Linked DNA regions of Homo sapiens: all the other regions are linked to region 1. Evidence: promoter capture Hi-C in 16 types of primary human blood cells and fetal thymus (Javierre and others, 2016). All regions are on one chromosome and are shown on one strand. The core of a region is centred on a gene start or on the middle of the fragment in contact, and the rest is flanking DNA. Distances in the headings are between cores, read along the strand shown.

The links. The method cuts DNA at HindIII sites, captures the fragments that hold promoters and counts their contacts. A CHiCAGO score of 5 or more calls a contact.
Region 2: a contact is called between a fragment that was not itself captured here and the fragment with the promoter of CSGALNACT1 in region 1, in 1 of 17 cell types (neutrophils). The highest score is 6.8, in neutrophils.
Region 3: a contact is called between a fragment that was not itself captured here and the fragment with the promoter of CSGALNACT1 in region 1, in 9 of 17 cell types (naive B cells, naive CD8 T cells, erythroblasts and 6 more). The highest score is 8.8, in naive B cells.
Region 4: a fragment that was not itself captured here is called in contact with the fragment with the promoter of CSGALNACT1 in region 1 in 1 of 17 cell types (neutrophils); the score reaches 5.5 in neutrophils.
Region 5: a fragment that was not itself captured here is called in contact with the fragment with the promoter of CSGALNACT1 in region 1 in 11 of 17 cell types (total CD4 T cells, naive CD4 T cells, non-activated CD4 T cells and 8 more); the score reaches 13.2 in total CD4 T cells.
Region 6: a contact is called between a fragment that was not itself captured here and the fragment with the promoter of CSGALNACT1 in region 1, in 10 of 17 cell types (neutrophils, naive CD8 T cells, non-activated CD4 T cells and 7 more). The highest score is 15.4, in neutrophils.

What each region holds. Positions count from the first base shown.
Region 1 is chr8:19,755,826-19,758,526 of GRCh38, reverse strand. CSGALNACT1 (chondroitin sulfate N-acetylgalactosaminyltransferase 1) reads left to right here and starts at 1,250. Exons shown (of 9, transcript NM_001354483.2): 1 at 1,250-1,341. The HindIII fragment of the contact is 8,664 bases long and covers 1-2,701 here.
Region 2 is chr8:20,146,206-20,149,492 of GRCh38, reverse strand. SLC18A1 (solute carrier family 18 member A1) reads left to right here. Exons shown (of 16, transcript NM_003053.4): 13 at 1,423-1,486; 14 at 1,771-1,890; 15 at 2,102-2,235. Among named protein-coding and RNA genes, the nearest start is that of SLC18A1, 35 kb to the left of the region's middle. The HindIII fragment of the contact is 1,351 bases long and covers 884-2,234 here.
Region 3 is chr8:20,127,320-20,130,606 of GRCh38, reverse strand. It overlaps LOC105379312 (a long non-coding RNA gene), which reads right to left. Exons shown (of 3, transcript XR_949563.2): 2 at 688-2,405. Among named protein-coding and RNA genes, the nearest start is that of SLC18A1, 54 kb to the left of the region's middle. The HindIII fragment of the contact is 848 bases long and covers 1,275-2,122 here.
Region 4 is chr8:20,100,917-20,104,203 of GRCh38, reverse strand. The region is part of intron 1 of LOC105379311 (a long non-coding RNA gene); the gene reads right to left. Among named protein-coding and RNA genes, the nearest start is that of SLC18A1, 81 kb to the left of the region's middle. RefSeq lists an enhancer at 1-178. The HindIII fragment of the contact is 2,076 bases long and covers 592-2,667 here.
Region 5 is chr8:19,469,415-19,472,701 of GRCh38, reverse strand. The region is part of intron 3 of CSGALNACT1 (chondroitin sulfate N-acetylgalactosaminyltransferase 1); the gene reads left to right. Among named protein-coding and RNA genes, the nearest start is that of SH2D4A, 160 kb to the right of the region's middle. The HindIII fragment of the contact is 1,498 bases long and covers 973-2,470 here.
Region 6 is chr8:19,489,739-19,493,025 of GRCh38, reverse strand. The region is part of intron 3 of CSGALNACT1 (chondroitin sulfate N-acetylgalactosaminyltransferase 1); the gene reads left to right. Among named protein-coding and RNA genes, the nearest start is that of SH2D4A, 180 kb to the right of the region's middle. The HindIII fragment of the contact is 8,083 bases long and covers 1-3,287 here.

The DNA of each region.
Region 1 (2,701 bases), core at 1-2,500:
ACGAGGGTGAAGAGTTCACTCAGGGTGTGGGGTGGGGATAGGTCCACCTGGGGAGTCCAGGTGGGAAGCAAAACTTGCTTCAGGGATGCTTCCTGCAGGTAAGCAGGAGCTTAATGGAAACCGAGCTGCTTCAAGACTGTGCCTATAGCCTCAGGACTGCCTACCCTGTGCCCACAATAAAGTCTGGTGCGCCGGAATCTCCCAGATGGAGACTCTGAGCCAGGCAGTAGAAGGAGCCATGGCCAGGTAGTAGAAAGAGCACTGCCTCAGGAGTCATAGGACTGGTTTCCAGCTCCGGTTCTGCGGTGGCTCAGCCCTGGGGCCTCTGCAAGTTGCTTAACCGCATCTGCAGGTGATGACCTCTTCCAGTCTAACTGACTCCTCCTGAGTCCCCCTCAATTACACTGAAAATTGGCGATCCTATTTCCCAACTCCCTCTCCCACAGAGATGCGCTGGAGCACTTACAGATAAAAGGCGACCTGTGGCCCTGGAGGGTGCCTGCCTGTGTGTGCTGGAGGTGGCGGTGGATCTTTTATTACCCAACACTCCACTTGCCTTTTTAGCCTTTCCTCTCCCTCTTCTCTCCTGGCCTCCCAGTGGCCGTCAGGGGTCCCTGCAGACATCGCTTACCCACAGTGGTGCGGTGTGAGAGTTACAGGGGTTCCTGACCTTCGCTGTAAGTAAAAGCTCTCTAGGGGAGGCGTTATAGCTGACCAGGGCAGCAGAGACCGCGACTAAAGCGTGAATTCCCCGAAGTGCGATTTACAAAGTTTTTGCATGGAAGTCGGCGCTCGGCGGGGAGGGCAGCCAAGGGAACAGAGCGGGTGGAGCAGGGGGATGGGGAACTCTGTCCTGCAAGAGTAAGGACCCCATGGAGATTGGACACCTCTCTCCTGCAACTCGGGCCACGCCACAGTGTCCTAGTCTCTAAACTTCTCCGGCTCTTGGTGTCCAGTCACGCGTAAACCGCCCCTGGTGTCCGAGCGCGGCCCCTTCCGAGAGTGACAGGCTTCGGCCAGGGCGCCGCTCCGACGGGCGCAGGGACGCACTGCAGAGAGGCCGTGGGTGACGCGGAGGTACGCGGCCAACCGCGACCCCAGCCCGGCCTTGGCCGCCCCCGCCGGACCTACCCTGCGGCGGGGCGCCAGGCTTGGCCGCTGTTGCGCCCGCCCGCCCGAGCCGCCGCCGCCGCCGCTGCTCCCCGCCCCCGGGGTCCCTGGAGGCTCCGCGGCTGCCGGAGCGGGAGGTGGAGCCGAGTCCGCGGCGGCCGCGCAGGAGGGAAAGTTCAGCGACGGCGGCAGCGGCCGGAGCCGGGCCGGGCAGCTAGCAGGGCGCTTCGGGTGAGTCGGGTCCCCTCCCGGGCCAGCCGGGCGCGGTGTGCCGCGCGGGGGCGTCAGTGGCGCCGGCAGATCCCCACAGCCCCGCGCGCCTAGCTCGCGCCCGCCCACCCCGCGACCTCGGGGTGGCTCGTGCAGCTGCGGAGGACGGTGCCGCGCCTGGCCTCCCTCCGCCGCTGCCCGCCGGGGGCCCAGGGCACGGGCAGGGGCCGGGGACCGGCTTGGCAGGCGGAGGGCGCGGCGCCTCCAGGTGGGCGCGCGGGGACGCGGAGGGAGCTTCCAGGGAGGGTCCGGGGCCGCTGCGCTCCCGGGGTCGGTTTGGCTTCACCAGCGTTTCTCGTGGCCTTCCGCTGTCTGATTGCTTTCTGCAAAACCCACTGAAAAGTAGCCTTTCCACGTGCCGCGCGATGACTGCGGTTATTGTATTATTGTGGCTGGGATGGAGAGGGTGGAGGGGGCGTGACGAGGGTGGCCGGTGGGCAGCGCGCTCGCCTGCCCGGGACCGGGCTAGTGGGGGATGTGGCTGAGGGTCACCGCTGCCCGAACATGCCCAGGGGACGTGCGATCGGTGGGCAGAAGCTGTTCGAGGGCATGATCTTGGGGTGGGATGGGGGCTAGAAGGGCGGGGAGGAGAGGAAAGCTGTAGGAAGCGGAGGCAAAGTTGTTTGTTTCCGTCGCACTTCCTGCACCTGCATTCCTGTCAGAGATTTTGAAGTTATCTTTTCATCGATGAGCAAAGAATGGTGAGAAAGGAAGAGATGTTAACAGCACTGTGCCTGCCAAAACAGTGAGCCTCGGGAAATACTCATAAGTGAAATACTAATAAAAAGCATGGAGTGGTTAAATTTCACAAACTCCACTTTTCTTCTGGTTTCAAAGCCTTGGTGCAGTTTTTACTTAACGTCATTAGATACGTCTAGATAATAAAGGTAATGAAGTGTTCTTTCACGGTTTTTTTTTTTAAACTGGAAATTTAAATTTAATTCTGTAGGATTTCGTCGACATTGTTCCTACAAGAAAGTCAAATTACCTTGGTGTTACTTGCAACAGTGAGCATTAATAAGCCCTGTGCAGTGCTGAAATGTTGCTAATTGGAGGGAGAAAGGTCCTTCAAACTTGGAAATAGACGCAGAAAGGCAAGATGAATTTTTATGTAAGCCTTAGGCATAAAAGGCGACTTGAACACGTTTTGTAATAGTGCATAATACACAGGGGACTAGGTGTTGGGCTGCCGGAAGATGGTCAATTCCTAGAAAGCAAGAGACGGGCCATACCCATTGTAAGATCACCGTACATATTTAATAATTCGTCTGCCTTGAGCTGCCACACCATATGTACTCCACATAATACAATATCAAAATAC
Region 2 (3,287 bases), core at 310-2,809, 390 kb before region 1:
GAATAGGCAGGAATTTAGCACGGGGGAAGAGGCCACCAGCTGCAGTGGCTTTCCTTTGAGGGGAAGTGGGAAAGGAGAGGAAGAGGGCTGTAGGGCAGCTGGAGCCGGAGGTCTGAGGCTGTACATGTGGGCATATGAAGTGATACATGTTGGTATCCATTTCTGGGGATGGCAAAATGGTGCGTTTTATGACTTCATTTACTCATCCCACCCTGACAGAGCCTCATAAATCCCCAGGGAACCATCATCTATGTCCCAGTCTCTGGCACCAGAGGCTTGATAGAAGAAGAAAGAAAGAAGGACTTTTCCATTTCCAAGAATCCCCCTCAAGTTCTCAAAGCCTTCATTTCCTCCTCTCCCCAGTGGGGATGAGAAACACACAAACCTCCTAGGCCTGAGGGAGAGAAGAACAGGGCTACAAGGCACTGTAAACTGTGCTCAAGACCAGCTGGAGGTCCTGAGCAGGAGCATGGGATCCGGGTTCCATGGCAGGTTTTGCCACTTTCTATGCATGTGACTTTGAGCAGGTTACTTCATCTCCGTGTGCTCAGCATCCTCATCTATGTAGAGAGGGTTCTGATGGTGTCCACAGGGTTGTCAAGGTAATCCAAATAAACCACAGTGTCTGGCACATGGTGAGCCCATAGTGAATCTCAGCCAATACTATTGATAATTTATAAACATTTCTTGAGGCATGAACCCTAAAAATTGTTATCAGCCAGCAGCATCTAAACGGTATGCTAAACCCTTAAGGGGTGAGTGTCCTGGGGTAGCAGGTTTGAATGGCAGGTACCCAGAGAGGGAGGTAAGGAACCTGAAAAAGAGGGAAGAAGGGGTTTTTGTTGGGGGATTGGGAGGGCAATGGGAATGAGTCTCACAAGCTTCCTGACAGGGGACCCAAGCCACACCACCTGCCCCCTCTAGCTTACAGCTAACTGGTTGTTGGGGCCTCTTCTCTATCTTCTTTTTCCAACAGCTACCAAGTTAGAAGTCTAAATGAAACCTTTCAGTGATGTCCATAATGGAAAACAGAGGCAACTTTATTCCATGAAGAATGAGACCAGGAGTGTATGTTTAGGTGAAGAGGGGTAGAGGAAGGGGAGAAAGTATCCATGGAACAGAGGAAGACCCTCGTTAGAGCATAATGGAGCCAAGTCTGAGGTCCAAACTTGATCTTGCCACTCATTAGATCTGTAACTCTGGATAGAGCAATAAATAAACACAACAGCGCTGGTCAAGTTTTCATATCCTTAAAATGGAGGTATAGATTCTTTTCCATGAGAAAGTCTGAGAGTGCAGGAGGATGATGTATGTGGCCAATAGTGCACTCTGAATAAATGCATTTCATGTGAAAACTCTTTGAACCTTGCTCCCACCTGACCCATCTGGAGTCCTGATGACTCTTCCTCCTTCCCCATGCAGGTTCCTCTGGCTCACAATATTTTTGGTCTCATTGGCCCCAATGCAGGGCTTGGCCTTGCCATAGGTAAGAAGTGCCCTCAAAGAAAACAATAAGCCCCTGCATGTTGGCTTTGGGTCTGATGCCTTTCCTCCCCCTTTTCTCATCAGAGGAGGTAGGTGCAGAGGCAGAAGGATCAGGAGGGCAGCTGGCAGGGTTGTGGAGAGATGAGCTCGTAATTCCCACCTGGAACAGGTGTTAGTCCGAGGCAGAAGACAGCAGACAAAGCAAATGGACTAAATGGAGGAGGAGAGGCGGGGTGGTACTAACTGTGGGTGGGGCTGACTGTGTCCTGTTTGCTCTGGCCACAGGCATGGTGGATTCTTCTATGATGCCCATCATGGGGCACCTGGTGGATCTACGCCACACCTCGGTGTATGGGAGTGTCTACGCCATCGCTGATGTGGCTTTTTGCATGGGCTTTGCTATAGGTATGTTGGCAGGACCTGGTGCCCCACTTTCCCCTGTCTACTCTTTACCAGCTGGAAGTGCAGCCAGGAAGCTATCCTCCTAGGGTTCTGGAGATCTTTGACGCTGAGACATCCTCTGGGTCACCCACTGCCCCTAGCATAGTGTCCTACGTGGAGGATGCTCCATATGGAGGCTCCATAGACACTTATGACTTTGATGTATCCCTCCCAGGTCCATCCACCGGTGGTGCCATTGTAAAGGCCATCGGTTTTCCCTGGCTCATGGTCATCACTGGGGTCATCAACATCGTCTATGCTCCACTCTGCTACTACCTGCGGAGCCCCCCGGCAAAGGAAGAGAAGCTTGTAAGGAGCACCGACTGTTAAAAGAGAAATTCACTTCTGTTTCTTTCCATCATCTCTCTCATTCCCTTTCATCCTGGGCTGTTATTTCCTCCCTCTATTGCTCTGTTGATACTCTCTCTGCTTTGCCATGTTTCCCAATCCCCTTTCATCTTCATATTTCTTTTGTGCACTTCCTTAATTTCCCTTCTCTAAGTAACCACTTCCCTCTTTCTGGGGCTATCAGGAAGGGTCTTCAGTAGAGAAGGGAAATGGGGGCAGAGGACCATCAAAGACATCCTGTAGTTACTGTTCTTAGCTTGCTAGTTACTAGCAAGATGTGAGTTACCAAGTTAACTCCCTCATAAGTGGGCAGAATTCCATTGGCACATCCGTTCATCCACTCATTCACTCTAGTGCAACATTATCCTTACCAGGTCACTTTTTTTTTTTTTTTTTGATGGAGTTTCACTCTTGTTGCCCAGGGTGGAGTGTAATAGTGTGATCTCGGCTCACCACAACCTCTGCCTCCCGGGTTCAAGAGATTCTCCTGCCTTGGCATCCCAAGTAGCTGGGATTACAGGCATGTACCACCATGTCTGGCTAATTTTTTGTATTTTTAGTAGAGATGGGGTTTATCCATGTTGGTCAGCAGGTCACGTTTTTAAAAGTACAAAAACCCCAGGGAAGAGATCCATACCATAGGATTTTCTTTAATAAAGCACTTTCCTCTTACTGCAGCACAAACATCCTGAGGGCCTGATGGGTTTGGGATACCGACAGAGGCTGCTCAAGGGAACAAAAGAAGACATGAAGGTGTGATAGGGAGTGGTGGTGATTCCATTTGGCTTCCTGCTGTAACTTTCACTACCACTGTTAAATTCAGTTAAAAGCAAATGAGATACTTGTCCTGACAAGGGTTGATATACTAGGTACCCCGGGAGGCTGGTGCATGTACATGCAGAGGGTCCTATGCATGTTTCTTGAGTACTTAGCAATGCCAGCCTTGGAAGAACTAGTGGGAGGACGGAATGAGGAGATTGGTAAAAAAAAGATGTGCGGTGGTTGGCCGGGCG
Region 3 (3,287 bases), core at 449-2,948, 370 kb before region 1:
TAGCTTTTGGGCCAGGGTCTATGAACTGTCTCCTAAGGCATCAAAACAAAAGGAAAAAAGGCCTGAAAGACTGGCATGGCTGTCACACAGGATGAATGGGGAGCAGGGAGGCCCATGTGGGACCCAGTGGTAATCCTGGCAGGCTTCCTCCCCTTTCAGAGCCCCAGCCATGGGTTCTCAGTGTCTGTCTGCTACAAGGCACCATCAGTTTTTGGGGTTGTAAGCTCTTGTCCATTCCCTTGGTTTCAGCCTCCTACTGTCCCTCACCAGCAAGCCACTCATTGTCCCTGTAGCTGCCCTGTGGCTCTTTCTGTCTTCCTGACAGCCTCACAGAGGGTGGCCCTGGGGCCACGGCTCAGCCCTGGTGGCCTCTGAGCTGTGTCTGTCAGGCAGACACACAGGTACCAGATCGACGGCAGAGCAGGCCAGTTAGTGCCTGGTCCTCCTGCCTGTATGGGACCCGGCCTGCGTTGAACTATGATCTTCAACACTCACAACCACAAGCCACCACCTCAGCCCAGCACCCACTTGTGGCCACAGCGAGCTCTAAAGACTGATTTCGGTGCGTGTGGCCTGTTCACATTCCGGCTGGAGCTATGAGTCCTGGAAAGTCCTCAGCCCACTTCAACTCACCCTGGATCCCAGCCCTGCTCACCCCTTGCCAAGGAATACCCAACCCTTGCTCACCAGGCCATCTGGTATATGCAGAAGAGAACCCAGGCTTCAGGGTCAGAAAACTGAGCTGCGATTTCTTGCTGCTCCACTTATTCTCTCTGTGACTTCAAGAGGGCATCACCCCTGGGCCTCGCTTTGCTACGTGTGTGCAGTAGAAGGTTTGGATGACACCTGTACCAGAGCCCTGGGTCCGAATGGAGTGATGTGTGTGAAGCCACGTTGCATACTCTAGAGTTCTGCGCAAATGGCATGTCCCAGGCTCTCAAGAACTTTGGGAAGATTGACTTCCTTCCCAGAACATCTTTGTGAATTGAGCTGGGACTTCTGGAGGCAGGATTGTAGCCCAGAGGCGTGATGGCTGCTGGGAAGGAGAACAGAGTGAAGAGAATATCGGCTTCTCGGTATCACTGGTGTTGATAGATCCAAGGTTTGCTTTAGGATGCCAGGACTGCAGGAGGTAAAGGGACATGTTCACTACAAACCCCTCAATTAGTCACAACAAGTCCCGCTTGCAGAGGGAAACGGCACAGCCTGACCCATCTGATTAGCATGTGTTGATATGGGCCAAGGTATGAGATTAACATTTTATCTGCAAAGCTTCTGTGACCTCCTGCTTGCAGTTGTGAAGTCAGGACTCAACTCACAGTGTCTTGCTCAAGGTCCACATAAACATATTATGCTCACATTTGGGCATGGCCCTGCTTGGCAGAGCTGAAGCTGCGTACGTGAGGCATATGTATGTATGATCCAGCTGCTGTCTGATGCTTGCAGAATTGGTAAAGAGGTTGCCGAGATAGAAGAGCCAGCATCTGTTCTCACCTGTCTAAAAGTCCACTTGAGATCAGATTGTAGCAAGTGAAATGTTTGGACAATGATTCGGATAGCTTTCTTTGTAGCCTGGGGCAAGTCACTTAACCTCTCTAGACATGTTTTTCCATTCCTCATAGAAGAACAGGAAATTCTACTTTCAAAGGGAATCATGGCCTCTTAGCTCTGGAAGAAAACTGAGCGGGGTATGTTAGGCCAACCTTCTTTGGTCCCAAACCTCCCTTCTACCACAGCCTGGAAAAAAGGGCCTATCCTATCACTTTTACTTACATACCTCCTCCCACAGGGACCTCACTACCTCTCCTGAAGCCCATTCTTATGTGAGAAAGCTCTGATAGTTAACAAGCTACTTCTCATTTTCAGAAGAAGGTTTGGTAGCCAGGTTGATCAGGGAATGTTCAGCACTGGTTTGGGGAGTCGAGACGCCCCTGAGCTGGCCTGCCTCTCAGCAGTCAGGGCCATACTACTGCCAAGGGGGGTGATACAGTAGCAGCAACCGCTGCTCTCACTGGTTCTGTTGTCTGCCTGGACCAGCTGCCCTCATCTCTCATCCTCCACACCCCAGCTTACACTGTTTCTGCAGACTGAAATGAGTTTCCCTTACACTAGACAGAAAGCTTGCTATCTTTCTTCAAGATCTAGCTTAAATGCGTCATCTTCCATGAAGTCTTCCTAGATTTATCCAGGCCACACAATTCCTCGCCTGCATCCCCAGAACACTGAGCTCTTGCCTCTGTTATAGCAGGAGAACATAACATAGCAGTTGTATTGTTACAAATCATCCCTCAGTACATTCTCTGCTCTTCCAGGCTAATTACTGGGTCTCATATCCATGCTGGCATCCTCAGTATCTGTTGCAGGCCACAGCATATAGTGTGAATTCAATATTTGTGCTGACCCATCTAGACATAGACATAAATAAAAGTATATACATACATATTTTACTTCCTCCCTTCCTTCCCTCCCTCCCTCTCTCCCTCCCTCCATCCCTCTTTTCCCTCCCTTCCTCCCTCCCCTCTCCTCCCCTCCCCTCCTCTCCCTTCCTCCCTCCCTCCCTTCCTTCTCTCTCTTTTCTCTTTTCTTTCTCTCTCTTTCTCATTTTATTTTTTTCCTGCTACAAGCTCTTGCATGTGGAAGACAGAGTGAAATGCCCTTGGAATAACTGTAGTTTGTAGGAGAAGGGTCGTTGTCTACTGGAGGTTCAGAATTTCTCATAAAACACTTTAAAATGATGTGTGTTGGATGCGTTTAAAAGTAGCACAGTTAGTGCATTTATACTAAGCATATCAATGTACTGAGTAAAAGCAAATTAGAAAATTTAATTTGCTAAAAAGAACATCTGGATATCTAAGTAAAAGAGGTAAGGCTGTTATTTGACTCTGACCTGCATTCTTACTTCCATCGTCCTGCCCCAGTCAATAAACTCTTTTGGCCGGGTGCGGTAGCTCACACCTGAAATCCCAACACTTTGGGAGGCTGAGGCAGGTGGATCACCCGAGGTCAGAAGTTCAAGACCAGCCTGACCGACATGGTGAAACTCCGTCTCTACTAAAAATACTCAAAAATTAGCCAGGCATGGTGGCAGGCACCGGTACTCCCAGCTACTTGGGGGGCTGAGGCAGGAGAATCGCTTGAACCTGGGAGGCAGAGGTTGCATTGAGCCGAGATCGTACCGTTGCACTCCAGCCTGGGCGACAAGAGCAAAAATCCACCTCAAAAAAATTTAAATTTAAAAATAAATAAAAACCCTATTGATTTCTAGCATCTGCAGGACTTTCCACTGA
Region 4 (3,287 bases), core at 380-2,879, 350 kb before region 1:
TGGAAATTGTCATGAATAACAGGAGTCACAGCTTCAATATGTATAATGACACCTATTTCACTGACAATTTTAAAGTAATTTAACAATATGAGTTAATCAAAACAACATTTATTGACTCATTTCTCACTCTTGGGAGGCGTCAATGAGAGAATATGCTCAGTGGGTTTGCCCATATTAAGTGCAAAAGTAAATGTTAGTTGTAATCAACTCATTGTTAAGTTACTTTCTCTATAACAAAATAGTGATGCATTTATTTTTCCTTTACTATGTAGTCACTCACTTTGTTTATTGAGTGCCTACCATTTGCATACATGAAGCCGAGTGTTGCGTTAGAGGCCCAGGAGCCATGATCACTTTGAGGAGTGGGGAGATAGAATGCTTTCAGGGATGTGACTCCTTGGGAAGAAATGCTGTTTATTTCTCTCAAGAGCAGAAAAGCCGCCCATGTTCTCTTGAATTATGGCTACTCTAAAGTCAGCCCCATGTGGTTTCTCTCCTGTTCCCACCCTCCCTCGTTCCCGCTGTCCCTCATTTAGTTGCTTATGAATTCTGAGCATTTACACAAAGAAGCTTTCATTTTTGAAGAAAGCTTTGCAGGCTGAATTCCTCAGAACATGTTCTGAATGGAGGGACTGAGGTTTTCCTATGTGTTTGTTTGCATGTGAATAAACAGGAAGTGTATAAACCGCTAAGGAAGAATTCCTCTGGAGGAAGTGAGTTTGGGAGCCAACTCAGGACCTCCCGGGCTTCACTGGCTCTTTTCTGCTTTTGCACCACAGATGCTGGGAGGGGAGATGCTAACTGGAATGACCGACGTGGGGGCATGTTCAGAGCCCACAGGGCCTGCATGGCCGCTTAAATTGTTTCCTTGATGGTAGTCTCTTTGCCCTTCAGTCTCTCCAGTAGAGGGACTATGCACCTCCATGCTATGGATATTTGGGACTGGATAATTCTTTGTTGTGGGCGCTGCCCTGTGCCTTGTAGGGTGTTGAGCAGCACCCCTGGCCAATGTCCACCAAATACCAGGAACACCTCCCCCTCTGCTGACCAAAATGTCTCCAGAAGTTGATATACCTTCAGGGACGAAATTGCTCCTAGTTGAGAATCAAACTGCAGCTCTTAAGAAACTTCCTAAAGCAAGCCTTTCACCTGCTTGAATGAGATCCATGTTCTTTAGCCTGGCATTCAAAAGTCTTCAATAACCTGACTCTTCCCAGAAGCCTCATCCCCGCTGTTGTCTACTCTTTCTTTGACTCCAAAAAATAGATCTGTCCAGAGTTCCCAGGGAATTTCTTTCACAGCTCTTTCATCTTCTCATCCTACTTTCTTTACATATTCTTTTCTCTCCTCTCCAGCTACCCAAGGAAGATTTGAATAAATTGAAAGATATAATTTGCAAAGAAAAACTTGATATTGTAAAAAGATCAGATCTCTTTAAAATAATCTATAATTTAGTATCATCCCAGTAAAAATGTCAAAAGAAGGGTTTTTAATAGCTAGACTAGTTTCTTCTAAACTTTTTTTATAGAAAGTAAACACGTAAGAATAACTGAAAATATTTTGAAGAGTATTAAGGTACAAATCCTACCAGTTATTCAAATATACTATAAAGATATAGTTATTTTTAAATTATGGTATGATGCTTAATTACAGATGCATAAACAAAACAAAATAAATATTCTATAAATATGACCTAATGCATGTGTGAGTCTTATATATAATATATAATAAATAAGGCATTTCAAGTCACTGGATAAATGATGGATTATTCAGTAAATGGTTGGGGAACAACAAGGTAGCCCTTTGGAAAACATAAATCCCTACCTTCTTACATTAAAGTATTTCCCAAGTAGTTCATAAGTATTAACATAAAAACTCCAACAGGTATGTAATAGTAAATTGTATCATTTTGTTAGGAGTTTTAAAATAAGAGGCAAAACCCAAGAGTCATGAGAGAAAAATATTAGTAATTTTATTGAATAAAAATGTGTGCTTCACAAAAACCACCTGTATTAGTCCATTTTCATGCTGCTGATAAAGACATACCCGAGAATGGGTAATTTATGAAGGAAAAGAGGTTTAATGTACTCACAGTTCCATGTAGCTGGGAAGGCCTCACAATCATGATGGAAGGTGAAAGGCACTTCTTACATGGCAGGGGCAAGAGAGAAAATGAGAATCAAGTGAAAGAGGTTTCCCCTTATAAAACCATCAGATCTCGTGAGACTTATTCACTACCACAAGAAAAGTATGGGTGAAACCGCCCCCATGATTCAATTAACTCCCACTGGGTCCCTCCCACAACACGTGGGAATTATGGGAGCTGCAATTCAAGATGAGATTTGGGTGGGGACACAGCCAAACCCTATCAACACTATAACAAAGCTAAAGACAAAAATAATTAACAACGGTATTATAAGACATGTGATCCAACAAAGGGTTAATTTTTATAAAGAGTTTATGAATGAGAATCAAATCAAATAGAAAAAAGCAATAGAAAATCAAATAGGATCCAATTAAATGGGAAAAAAAAGTCAAGAACTCCAGAAAATAAGAAAGTAAATATCTGAGGTTTTCAAAGTTAGCCTTGTTATAAGAAACAAATAAAAATAAGTCTCTGTTTTTATCTATCAAAATGTCAAAGGTCAAAAGGTTATTAATAAAGCTTTTATAAATGTACAGAAGTAGTATACCCTTACATTGCTACAAATTAAAGACAGAACAGTTTGCCAATAACTTTCAAAATTATAAATGCACATATCCAGTTATTCCTTGCCCAGGAATATATCCTACAGGTACACCCGCATGAAATGTGCAAAGAGGGATGTGCAAAGATATTCACTGGAGTATTGTTTAGTAATTAGTTAATAGCAAAAACCCGAAAGCCTTCAAATGTCCATAAATATGAGAAATGGTAAAGTAAATGATTGTGCAATTGATTGAACACTCTTTGGACATGAAATGCGATGCTGCCGATTTGTATGGGTCGAAATGGATTGGATTGAGTTCCTAGGTGTATTAGGAGAGAAAAAGTAAGTTGTAAAACCATGTTGGTGCAATGGGTGTGTGTGTGTGGCTGTGTTTGTCTCTGTGTGCACGTCTGTGGATAAGATAGTTCTGGAAAATGACATGCAGAATTCACTAAATTGGCTTCTGAAAATATATATAATACGTATACATGTAATATTAGCTAATATATATTATATATTATATAATATGTAACGTTATATATTATATAATATGTAACATTACATATTATAGTATATGTAATGTTATATATTACATTT
Region 5 (3,287 bases), core at 472-2,971, 290 kb after region 1:
AAAGGAAGAACAGAAAAGAAAGAAGAGTTAAAACATCCTTTTGATTGCCGAGTTGATTCACCTTGAAAGAGCTGTACTTTGACATTGGTCTCAGATTCTTACTCGTGTGCCCTTTGGTCTGGGAGCATAGCATTTGCAACCTTGAATTGGTTACTTTAACTTTTTCAAAATGAGTAAATGGCTTACCTCTTTGAAAGATACTTCAAAATCAAGATAATATTTGTGAACAGGGTTTGAAAAATGGACGTGAGTCAGAGTGATGGAAATTTCAGTTAGACTGCACATCCTCTACTTTGGTGGTAAGTTGCATATGGACGAGGTCAATGGTTGGCCAAAGACAATAGCTTGGTCACACATTCCTTGGTCTTTGACCTTTTGGTTCCTGCTTATTGCTTCTGCCTGTATCTTAAGTTTTGTGCTTTCCCACGACATCCTGGATATACATTCGAATGTGTTTGCAGAGGAAGTCCTACAGCTGTTTGGAAACTGGCCCTAATAATGGCAGCTGTGACTTCCCCTCCTTGCATGTTGTTTGTTCTGGAATCTTTGTAGAACTCCCTAATATCTTTGCCTCTACCCTTGCTGACTGGCCTCTTAAACTCCATTGAGTCCAAGTAGGCATCCTGCAAGTGTAATTTCTAACCCTTGGTGTCTTAAGGTAAGATGATGGGAATAGATGGATCTGCCATTTCTTCATTAGAAACCCACAGTTCTTCAACAATAGGAAGTGAAGGTGAAAAAGAGATCTGTGGAGTTGTTTTGAGCAGCCTGATATCTGGGTCCAGCCAGCTCTAGAGACAGCATTGAGGGAGAAAAGTGCAGAGGCCCAGTTTCCAGGACAGCTTCATTCTGGGGCTGTTGATCACCTGGAGCAAGTTAGACTTAAACATCCTCAGAATCTGTTTCTTCCCCATCTCTTCCGTTGAGTTTTCTCACTTCAGCCTTGTTGTTTACTCTCACTGCATCTAAGCTTTCACCCTTTCCTGTCCTTGTACTCTACCTTTCCTTAGGCTCCTCTGCTCCTCTCTCAACCTGGACCCCATAATGTAACCCCTCTGTTACCGGTGGAAGAGATAGGAGTTACCCTGAGTTACCGGCGTCGAACCCCTACAGGTCCACAGCAACTTCAGTCCTTGCCGCCTCAGAAGAAAGAATTCGACTGAGGGGCATGAAGCAGAAAAACAGACTAAGGCAAGTTTCAGAACAGGAATGGAAGTTCATTTTAAAAGGCTTTAGAACAGGAACGAAAGGAACATTCACTTGAAAGAGACCCAAGTGGGTACCTGAGGGTCCAAGAGAGAAAAGAGAGCAAAAGAAGACAGGAATGAAAAAAAAGAAAAGGAGGGAGGGAGACCTTTAAACTTGATCCTGGGATTTTATAGGCTCGCCTCTTCCCCATGATTCACCCCTTAGGGTAGGCTTTCCGCATGCGCAGTGTTCTCCTTACCCTTTGGCATTGAGCAAGCGCAGTGCGTTTAGTGAGTGATACGCATGCCCATTGGAGGCTTTCTTCCCTTTTCCGGTGGAGTGTGCCCCAAGATCATACTTCACCTTTTTTTTTCTCTCTCTCTCCCCTCTCTCTCCTTTTGTTTTGTTGTTTTGTTTTGAGACAGAGTCTTGCTCTGTTGCTCAGGCTGGAGTGCAGTGGTGTGATCTTGGCTCACTGAAACCTCCACCTCCCAGGTTCAAGCGACTCTCGTGCCTCAGCCTCCCAAGTAGCTGGGATGATGGGTACCCACCACCACGCCCAGCTAATTTTTGTATTTTTAGTAGAAACGGGGTTTCACCACATTGGCCAGGCTAGTCTGGAACTCCTGACCTCAGGTGATCCGCCCACCTCAGCCTCCGAAAGTGTTGGGATTATAGGCGTGAACCACCACGTCCAGCGCATTTTTGTCTCTTAACACATGTTCCCAGGACATTGCTTCTCCTTAGGGCCTGCGTTCAGTTAGCATTTTGATGTTAACGGGTGTGGATCATCAGGAAGTGGCCTCTCTGTGGCACTGCCAAATTTTCATTTTTAGAGAGGCAATGAGATGATTGCCGAATCATCCCCTTACATTTCTAGGGTAGAGCCCTCTCCTGCCCCGCTCATGCCCAGCTACCTGTTAACACTTCCGCCACTCGCTTCCCAGTGCCTGCCTTCCTTGCCCTCACACCTGTCTGCAGAGTCCAGTCCAAGCTCAGTGAGTCACCGTCTTGTTTCCTCTGTTGCCTGTGTTCCTCACGCTGCTGGAGAGAAGTCACTGAATGCGCGTGCTGATGTCAGTGCAAATTCATGCTCTCTGGCCTCGCTGCCTGCACCTCTGCGTTGTTTCCCACATCCTTACTCATCTCCGTGCTCACTGTCCCATCCCAGCCTCCAGCACTCCTCATAAACCCATTATTCTACTTTTAATTCCCTCATTCTGTTTCACCAAGAAATTAACGACTTAGCGCCATGAGCTCCTGTGGTTCCTTGCCCCAAGCTTTCTCTATTTGTATCCCTAGCCTTCTGCTCCATCCCCATTGTGGGAACTAGGTAACCCTTCTTTGTCTGATACCAAGTACTTTGCGGGGTTGTAGGTCCCATCCACCTCTCACCTTCTCACTCCGTCCCTGCATCTGTATTATCCATTTCTATTTGTTCCTTTTTATCAGCATATGAAGGAAGTATGTTGCTTTTTCCAATATTTTTAAAAAACATTCTGTCAACTCGGTAATTCCTCTGATTTCTACCCTATTGCATTTATTCCCTTTTTAGCCAAGCACCTTCCCTTTCTTCTTCCCTCCCTCCCTTTCTCCTTCTGTGAAGCAAATATTCATTAGGGTTGCAGACACCAAGTTCTGGTTTCACAGAGTGTACCTTCCCATGGCAGGAAGAGTAACGCATAGATAAGCAGTAAACACATTCAGATAATGTGCGATGAAAAACCCAGAATGGGGTCGTGTGAAAAGGTAACAGAGAGTGTCTGTGGGATGGTGGGGGGCTTCAGAGACTGAGAGTAGGTAAAGCCTCATTGAGGAGGTGGCTTCAGGGCGGAGACCTACATGGTAGGAAGGATGTAGCCGTGCCAGACCTGGGGAAGTGTCCCAGACAGAGCAGAAAGAAAGGGCAGAGGTTCTGAAGTGGGAATAAACTTGACATTTTCAAGGAATTGAAGGAAAAACACTCAACTCACTGCTGCCCCTTCATCCCTTATCATTTTTCAAATCTATCCCAGGCTGTCTTACACCCCTGAAACTTATTGATAAGACTACCTGTGGATGGTCTCCTCCTTGCCCCATCCAGAGGGCTATTTCTTTTT
Region 6 (3,287 bases), core at 574-3,073, 270 kb after region 1:
ATTGATGTCGATTCTCTTTCTCACTTATGTCAGTGCTTGATCGTAACCTTGTCATGGAAGACACAAATATGCCATACACTGGACAGGCGAGGCAGGGCACAAACTAAAAGAAAGAAGACTTAAATCTTATTTTTACCATAAGATTAGTTTAACAGACAAAACTATGAAAAATCTGTTCATATTATTCCTGATCATAGTCAACAGATTACTATAAAGATGAATTTCCAGTTTGGGAATAATGTTTTAAATACGATATCAGTAGTTTGAGGCTAAACATTCAAGCCTAATAACTGGCAGCATTATGCCATTGCTAGGCTGGTGGCTACGGGCCAGTGGCGTGGACCAGCAAGACCAGAGCATGGCTGGGCTTCCAGCTGGTGTTGAATGGAACATGCCCTTATCCTGAAAGCCTTTAGGGCAAAATCTAAGTCAGACTGGGGCATCGGACATGACACAGGTGAGGCTTGGCCCAGGTTGGCAGGCTAGCTCCAGCAGGGTAGATGGCACAGAGTTTAAGAGGACGTGAATTGATGTTTGAAGTTCATACTAGACATTAGTAAAAATGCAGAAAAATGCCTTCTGAATCAGGAGATCAGGAGTAGCGTGCAGGAAACTGAAGAGGTAGATGAAATTTACCATCCTGGGATAATTACTCAACAAACATTCACCAAATGTCTACTACATCCCAGGCATAGCCCAGCAGTATGCTGGTTGATTTCATCGTGAGGGCTTCAACCAAATGTCTACTATGTCCCAGGCATAGCCTAGCAGTATGCTGGTTGATCTCATTGTGAGGGCTGTGTGCTGTTGACCTTAGATACGTGCTTCTCTGAAAAGAAGAGCCTTCTCGCATATAGTTAGCATTTTGTTACTTAAATCCTGTAAATTTATAGACATTTTCCAAAGGATTCTCACTAGTTACCAATGTTCCCATGAGTGGCATTGTAAACACATTTTTCATTTTCAAGTTCATGGCTGAACCTACTTAAGTTATGAATATGTTTATGGTCAATAAATAGAGCTTATTAATAGCACAGAGTGTACTTTGGCCTTCCATCCATGTCTAAAGAAATCATTAATCTCTGTAACCTCTACCCACATACTAATTTGCACTGCAATGCTTGAAAAATTGCTAATTCTGTGGACTCATGTAAAGTGTGTGGAATGTAAATGTATGTCTTAGTACCCTTGAATTATGTACCGAATTTATTAGAAATCAGTTGTGTCGTTTGCAAATTACTGCACAACATCGAAACACACATGAAATGCTAAGAGTGAAATGTGAAAAGACCTTGCTTTGTTTGGTTCAAGATGCATATGAGCATGACATAAATTCTTGCTGAAACTTAAACCCAAGCAAACATCATGAAAGATACATGAGCAAAAGATGAACGGATCACAAAAGAGATACAGATATCTGATATACAAATAAAAAACTGTTTACTTTTTCTTACCTAATAAAGTTTAAAACAAATGTAAAATACGAATTTTCACAATTTTATAAATGATGACACATATTGTTAGGAGCAGGTGAAATGAAAATTTATATTTAGTATTAAGAGCATAAACTGTTTCTATCATTCTGTAAAGTAATTTGTATCAAGAACGTTCAAAATATTCATAGCTTTTTCCAGTATTTTCCTTTCTGAAAGCTGATTCTCAGAAATGTCCATGAATATTTATATCATAGAAGTATTTATAATAATGAAAAATGAGAAGCAATTAGTTGTCTAACAATAGGAGACTGGTAAAATTTTGCGGTATCGTTATAGTAGAATATTGTACGGTAAACAAAAATCATTTATTCAGTAAATATTAACATAGGACAAAGGCTATCATTTTAATTGTGAAAATAATTATAAAGTTTTTATCTAGCTATGTAAAGAAAAAAGATCGAGGGGATGAAAACACTGTAGCAAAGCATTGGTTTTTTTTTTTTTCCTGAGTGGTAGAATTATGAGTGATGCTGTGTTTTCCAGATACTTTCTTTGGAAATTCTGTTGCTGTTATACTTTGCAATAAGATATGGCAGTGCTTGAATCATGTTGACATGACTAGAAAATAAATTAGCATTTGATTCTAAACGTGACAGAATAGGGTAATTGAAACAGTCCCAGGTTTCGAGGTGGTAGTTTCAGGGGACTTCCTTCCTGCTGCCTGGGAATCACCTGGAGAATCCAGAAAGAGAAAAATAAAATTACAGGTAACTTCTAGGTCTCAATCAGTCTTTACCCTAAATACCAAGGCTGGAGCAGGCAGCCTGTAAAGGTGAGGGTTTTTTGGGGAAGGAGATGATGGGCCCTGTGGAAGAAGTTACAGCAAAGCCTCATTGTGTCCTGGGCTCCACTTCTCCTGCATTGTGATGGAGACTACAGGTGTCCAAGCTGGAGAGAACCAATCAGCATATAGCACTAAGCTGGTGTGGATTTATCAGTTGGCTCTGCAGAAAAGGTGGTTTCGCATGCTCCTGGCCTCTAAGCAAGAGTTTGGTGGAACCAGAGGTTCTGGTGTTCTCCGTCAGAGTCCCTTTCCTGGTGGCATCTTATGATGCTTTCTTTTTTCCCCTTCCCAGTACTCCCAGGAGATGAATAGGAGTTTTCAAGGACAAGAGGAAAAAGAACAAAACACCTCTTCTTCCTTCCCTTGATGAAAGACCCTACTGTCAAAAGTGCCTTTTGTTTTTTTAAACCTGTCTCTCTCTTTTCCTCTCTTTCCCAAAATACTGTTTTGCAGTCAGTCTGTGAAAACCAGTGTGAGTCGCAGAAGCAGCTTCTCGTGTGCAGCCTTCCATCTGTAGCTTGGTCTGTATTATGTGCTGTATTTTTAGAATGCCTAAATTAGTGATGTTCCATGCGCTATTTAAAGAGGAGCTGGGAAGTCGGGGGAAGAGCAGGGCTATTGATCAGGATTGGCTTCTGAATGTTGCTGGCTGTTATACTCGAATCCCAGAGTTAGAAATATTTGGGGGCCATCAAAAGAACAGATGGTCCAGGAAGGCAGCTGGCCCATGTGGTAATTAGTCTATGAAGGCAATTGGTCATTTTCTGAGCTTGGAGCAGAATTTTGCTTTTCTTGGTACCATTCAAGGTGTAGAAGGAGACTTTGGTTAGAACACACAGGGCTAGAAAATGTGTGTAAACATACCATTCCAGCTGATAGATGTCAGCTCAGCTTGGCTTCCTAACAAAAGGTTCCTAACAAGAAAGTTGAAGGAGAGATTTTTGGTTTTAATTTAAAATTGGAGACACACAGCTATGTTTAACAGGGCTAAGGAAAGATGTCATCGT